2 separate regions of the Homo sapiens genome follow, and region 1 is linked to region 2. The links are contacts of gene promoters, found by promoter capture Hi-C in human tissues and cell types (Jung and others, 2019). All regions are on one chromosome and are shown on one strand. The core of a region is centred on a gene start or on the middle of the fragment in contact, and the rest is flanking DNA. Distances in the headings are between cores, read along the strand shown.

Region 1 (2,707 bases), core at 207-2,706, 590 kb before region 2:
AGCTACTCAGGAGGCTGAGGCAGAATTGCTTGAGCCCAGGAGGCGGAGGTTGCAGTGAGCTGAGATCATGCCATTGCACTCTAGCCTGGGCGACAAGAATGAAACTCTACCTCAAAAAAAAAAAAAAAAAAGTTCTCAGAAACAGCTTGGCTTTCTCCGAACCAGGCTCTCAATAGTATCCTGCAGCTGTCCAGGCTTTTGACCTGCTTCCTTGGCCTTCAGAACAGAACACCCAGCTCTTCCCCTCCACCGGCCCACCACCCGGGAGGCCCAAACAGCCTTTGAACTAGCACAAGGTCCTGGTTCCTTTCTCTTAAAGAACAGCAGGATCCGAAGCCTGCCCTCACAAGATGAGGAGGCAGCAGCTGAGAGGCAGGGATTTTTTTTTTTCTCATTGGAGAGTCTAAATTTGGTGAAGGAATCCAAAGCTCAGAAAGGTAAAGCAACCAGCTTGAGGTCACACAGCAAGTCAGTGCTGGGGCCAGAACACAGCAGTGAATGGGAGGATAGCCAAAGCCTCCAGGGAAGGGCTCAAAGCTGTGGGGCTATGCACACAAATGGGGTGAGGTCCTCGAGGTACAGATTAGGCACCCATTTTATAGGCCAGGTCACAGAGCTGGTTTACAAAATCCTGCTCAGAGTGTGGCCCCAGGTGGCAGGAAGAAGTGAAAGAAGGCCTCTAATCACTTCCTAAGCAGTGGAATCACAGGGAGAACTTACTGTCATTAAACCAGTATGATGATGGAGTGGGGAATGCCTCAGTTTCTCCCACCGCCGAGGGCCTATAGGACTACAGTTCCCAGGGCCCCGTGCTGCAGGCTAGCGGCCTCCCGCCAATGCTGGCCAGTAACCTGAGCATCCCTCTCCAAAAGGTCACTTCAGGGCTCCTTGAGGGACAGCAACAGGGGGAGCCTAGAGCTGCTCAGCTTCGGTGGGGGTGGAGTGAGGGCTGTGGCCCTGCCTCACACAACCTCCCTCACACCACCCCTGCAATGCAGGGTCGTGGGCCCCTTTCTCAAAGACATCCAGTGGCCTCTGCTAGTTGCACCTCTTCCGTCAGGGGACACTGACTTGGCTCCTGCACCACAGCCTGCAGGGGGTCCTGGTTCCTTTTGCCACAACACATGGCCTCCCATCCTGGTTCAGCCACTGACAGACAGCTCCCCAATCCAGCACTCTGCCTGCTCCTTCTTGTATCCAACCCTCCAAAAGGCAGGGACAAGGGACAGAAGACCATGTGCAAGGCCTGGAGGAAGTGGGTCAGCACAGGCCTGTGAACAAGCCAGGCCAGTCTTGGCGGCCCAAGTGGAGCTCACCTCTCCCTCCCCTCTCCTCTCCTCCCCTTGCCCTCAAAATAGCTCCCTGAGCTGCCAGGCCAAGACCCTCCCATTGCAGGGGAGGCGGGGCGTGCTGCCCAGAGCCAGGCTTTAAATCCCCTTGAGGCTGGGGAGCTCCACTCCTTGGCTGGAGGCAGTGCTGAGGCCGCCGTCCCCTCTACCATCAGTCCAGTCCGGCCCGCCCTCCTGCAGCCATGTCCCGGCCCCTGTCAGACCAAGAGAAAAGAAAGCAAATCAGTGTGCGTGGCCTGGCCGGCGTGGAGAACGTGACTGAGCTGAAAAAGAACTTCAACCGGCACCTGCATTTCACACTCGTAAAGGACCGCAATGTGGCCACCCCACGAGACTACTACTTTGCTCTGGCCCATACCGTGCGCGACCACCTCGTGGGGCGCTGGATCCGCACGCAGCAGCACTACTATGAGAAGGACCCCAAGGTGCTGCTGGGGAGCCTGGGGTGGGGGTATGGGCTGAAGGCGCTGCCAGGGAGCTGGCGATCTTGACTTAAGTGGCTGCCCCTCGTCACTCTAGGTTCTTGGGGGTGGAGAATCCAGGGGTGCCAGGCACAAGGGGTGCTGGGACAATCTGAGGGAGAAACCTGGGGCAGGAGTGGGGGTCAGGGAGCTCAGAGCAGGTGGGCTGGCTGCAAAGGGTCAGTGCCCACTCGGAGAAGGTTGGAGTGGGTGCTGGTGGGCAGGACGGCGCCTGTGGCCTGGCTGGGCCCAGGTGGAAGGACACATCAGTTGCTGCATGTATGCGCGGTGTGCCTGTGCAGCAGGCGGGGCTGGGGCAGCTGGGGCGGCAGAGATCAAGTGTCCGGTGGGGTCACTGGTAAATGTCAGCAACCTGACACGCCTCGGTGGGGAGTGGGGGAGGGGCGGGCAGACGGCCCAGGAGGGGACCCAGGAAACTGGGAGACCAGGCACTGGCAGCATCCTAGTTTCTGGTGCCTCTGGGTCTCCTTGGGATTGAGGCTTGAGGGCCAAGGGGAACTGGACAGTGCAAGGATGGGAGGTGACAGTCTCTAGCCCAGTCTCTAGCCACTGTGTGACCTTGAGCAAATGACTTTTTTCTCTGGGGGTGTGTGCAGGGGGAAGGGGTGCCCATTCTCCCGAGTACCTCAGTCCCTGAAGTGGGTATGGCCAGCGCTATTTCCCAGATGAGGAGACTGAGGCCAAAGAGAGTGATTTGTCCAAAGTCAGAGGAATGCTGGGACCAGAACCTTAACCGCTGGGCCCCAAAGCCTGAGACAGGGAGAAACAAATTGGGGACAGGGATGGGACTGCTGAGCAGGGCAGGCGGGCCAGAGGTCCAGGCGTGGCTGGGCCTGGCTGAGTGTTGGTGTGTGGCCCTGACCCCATTCCCTGCCC
Region 2 (2,700 bases), core at 72-2,571:
AGTAGCTGGGACTAGAGGTGAGTGTCTACCACCATACCAGGGTAATTTTTTTGTGTGGGGGCGGGTAGAGATGAGGGGGTCTCACTATATTGCCCAGGCTGGTCTTGAACTCCTGGCCTCTAATAATCCTCTTGCCTCAGCCTCCCAAAGTGCTGGGATTACAGGTGTGAGCACTTATTCATTATTCATTATTACATTCATTATATTATTATAATGGCCCGGCCTGTATTCATTATATTTATCATAAAGTAATATTAATAGTACATAAAAATATATAAAAGTACTTAAAAATCCATCCTCGTGTTTTTTGTTTTGTTTTCTTTGAGACAGAGTCTCGTTCTGTCACCCAGGCTGGAGTGCAATGGCACGATCTCGGCTCACCGCAACCTCCGCCTTCCGGGTTCAAGTGATTCTCCTGCCTCAGCCTCCCGAGTAGCTGTAATTAACAGGCATGCACCACCACGCCTGCATAATTTTTGTATTTTTAGTAGAGACGGGGTTTCGCCATGTTGGCCAGGCAGGCCTCGAACTCCTGACCTCGTGATCCACCCAACTCGGCCTACCAAAGTGCTGGGATTACAGGCGTGAGCCACCGCGCCCGGCCGGTTTTTGTTTAAAAAAGAAAAGAAAAAAAAAAAAAAACACACAGACACACACAAAAACATCACCCCAATCCTTCCACCCTTGAACGCCACTTGAAGCCTAAGTTTCCTGCCTCCAAATTCCACTATTTCCACCCTCGACTCTCCTCCCCAGCTGTCCTAGATTCTGCTCCAGCTGAGCCTTGGCCCCGGGGCTGTTAGAAGGCAGAGGCTCTGGGGAGAAGTCCCCAAACCGGATTTACCCGTTCGTCGCACCTGTCCCTAGGAGGGCAGGCTGGGGTGTGGAGGCGGTGCCCTGCTGACCCGCGGGGAGAGAAGCCCGGGTCTCCCAGGCTGCAAAACGCTCGGCACTGCGGAAGCCGCGCCAGGCTCTCCCAGCTCGATACGCAGCGGCCGGCGCGCCTGCTCCGCCGCGGGGCCGAGCGGCAGAGGGGCCCGGGGCTGCGTGGAAGGCCCGGGGGCTTCAGCCCGTGCCGGGGAAGCCGACGCTCAGCCAACCAGAAAGTTAGAGGCGGCCGAGGTCTCGCGGAGGGGAGGCGCCTGGCGGCCACGGGAGAAGTCGAAGGGCTCAGGCGGGGCTCCATCCGCGACACTGGGAGCCCGGGCGGGCGCGCACGTGTGTATACGAGTGCGTGGGCCCATCCGGCGGCCCGGACTACAAGTTCCAGGGTGCCCAGCGGCGCTCCCGGGTTTTCTGGCCGCGCCTCCCGCTGGCTCCGAGCAGGTCGCCGCTGGCTGGCAGTCGCCACCCGGTCCCAGAGTAAATAAGGGAGAGACACTCCCGAGCGCCGTAAATAGAGTCCAAGTGGGCGGAGAGCCGTCCCGCGCCGCCCGCTCATGTCTCTACAGAGCCGACTGTCCGGCCGCCTGGCACAGCTGCGCGCGGCGGGGCAGCTGCTCGTCCCCCCGCGCCCCCGGCCCGGACACTTGGCGGGTGCCACGAGGACCCGCAGCAGCACGTGCGGTCCCCCGGCGTTCCTGGGCGTGTTCGGCCGCCGTGCGCGGACCTCGGCGGGAGTTGGGGCGTGGGGGGCGGCGGCGGTGGGGCGGACAGCCGGGGTGCGCACTTGGGCCCCCCTGGCCATGGCGGCGAAGGTGGACCTGAGCACCTCCACCGACTGGAAGGAGGCGAAATGTAAGTGTAAGCACGAGGGGGCGCGAGGGAGAGGGCGGCCTCACGTGGAGCTTCCCGGCTGGGCGGCCCCCAACGAGCGAGCAGCCCCTTCCACCCGAGAGACCTGGGGAAGTTGAGGCCCCATCTGCCCTGGAACGGACCCCTCCTCCCCATTGACAGCCCCCCCCGCCCCCGCGCGTGTTCCCAGCCCCACAGAACAATTCACTCCAGACCAGGTCCAAGTGTCCACGCAGGGGGCAGCGTGAGGAAGGCGGCCTTCCTTACCCCATTGGAATGGGTCACAGGGCACCCCAGAGATTGTGCAGGACCTACCAACTTCCTTCCCTGTGCAGGAGGGAAACTGAGGCCGAGTGCCACAGCTGGCTTCCCCAAGGTCACTCGGAGCTGGTGGCAAAGTGGAGGTTATGATCCCGGACTCTCCAAACTTTGCACAGTGTGGTTCTTAAGTGTTCGGGAATGGGGCTGAGGGAACAGCTCCGGGGCTGGCGTCCCACCTGGTGGGGCACGTAACCTCACAGAGTGACCTTCCTGGGCTGGCCTGTCCTGCCTCCACCCCACCCCAAGCCCGCACTCTGATGCCTTCCTGGGCACGTGGTCTGGCGCCCTTTTCCCCTTCTCGCTGGCCTCTGGCCACTTGTGAGCAGTTTGCTCATGCCAGGAACAGAGGTTAGAGGAGCAGGGCAGAGGTGGGGTCTTGTCCCTGTGACAACTGATGACACCCTTCAAGAATCACACCACTTCCTCTTGCTCCTGGAGGGGGCATGAGTCTGGGGCCTGGGGAGAGAGAGAACCCAAGCTGCCGCTACTGAGCCCCAAATAGCCCTGCCGGGCACCCAGCTGCCCCTGCCTTTCAGGGCCTGCCTCCTGGGATCCTGTGACTCTTCCCGGCTGGATCCCCTTTCAAAAGTGCAGGGAAGTGGCTAATTGGCTGGGCCTCCGTGGTGGAGTAGGTGTGGCCTCTGG

The links. The method cuts DNA at HindIII sites, captures the fragments that hold promoters and counts their contacts. A contact is called where the count stands out against the background at its distance.
Region 1: a contact is called between the fragment with the promoter of PYGM here and the fragment with the promoter of MACROD1 in region 2, in 1 of the 25 tissues and cell types used here (small bowel).

The regions. Positions count from the first base shown.
Region 1 is chr11:64,758,723-64,761,429 of GRCh38, reverse strand. It overlaps PYGM (glycogen phosphorylase, muscle associated), which reads left to right and starts at 1,456. Exons shown (of 20, transcript NM_005609.4): 1 at 1,456-1,774. The coding sequence starts at 1,532. RefSeq lists enhancers at 639-1,341, 1,342-2,046, 2,047-2,707. The HindIII fragment of the contact is 11,504 bases long and covers 1-2,707 here.
Region 2 is chr11:64,164,734-64,167,433 of GRCh38, reverse strand. MACROD1 (mono-ADP ribosylhydrolase 1) reads left to right here and starts at 1,321. Exons shown (of 11, transcript NM_014067.4): 1 at 1,321-1,737. The coding sequence starts at 1,440. It overlaps LOC105369339 (a long non-coding RNA gene), which reads right to left and starts at 1,196. Exons shown (of 3, transcript XR_950187.3): 1 at 845-1,196. RefSeq lists silencers at 935-1,194, 1,455-1,534, 1,665-1,764 and an enhancer at 1,302-1,802. The HindIII fragment of the contact is 20,905 bases long and covers 1-2,700 here.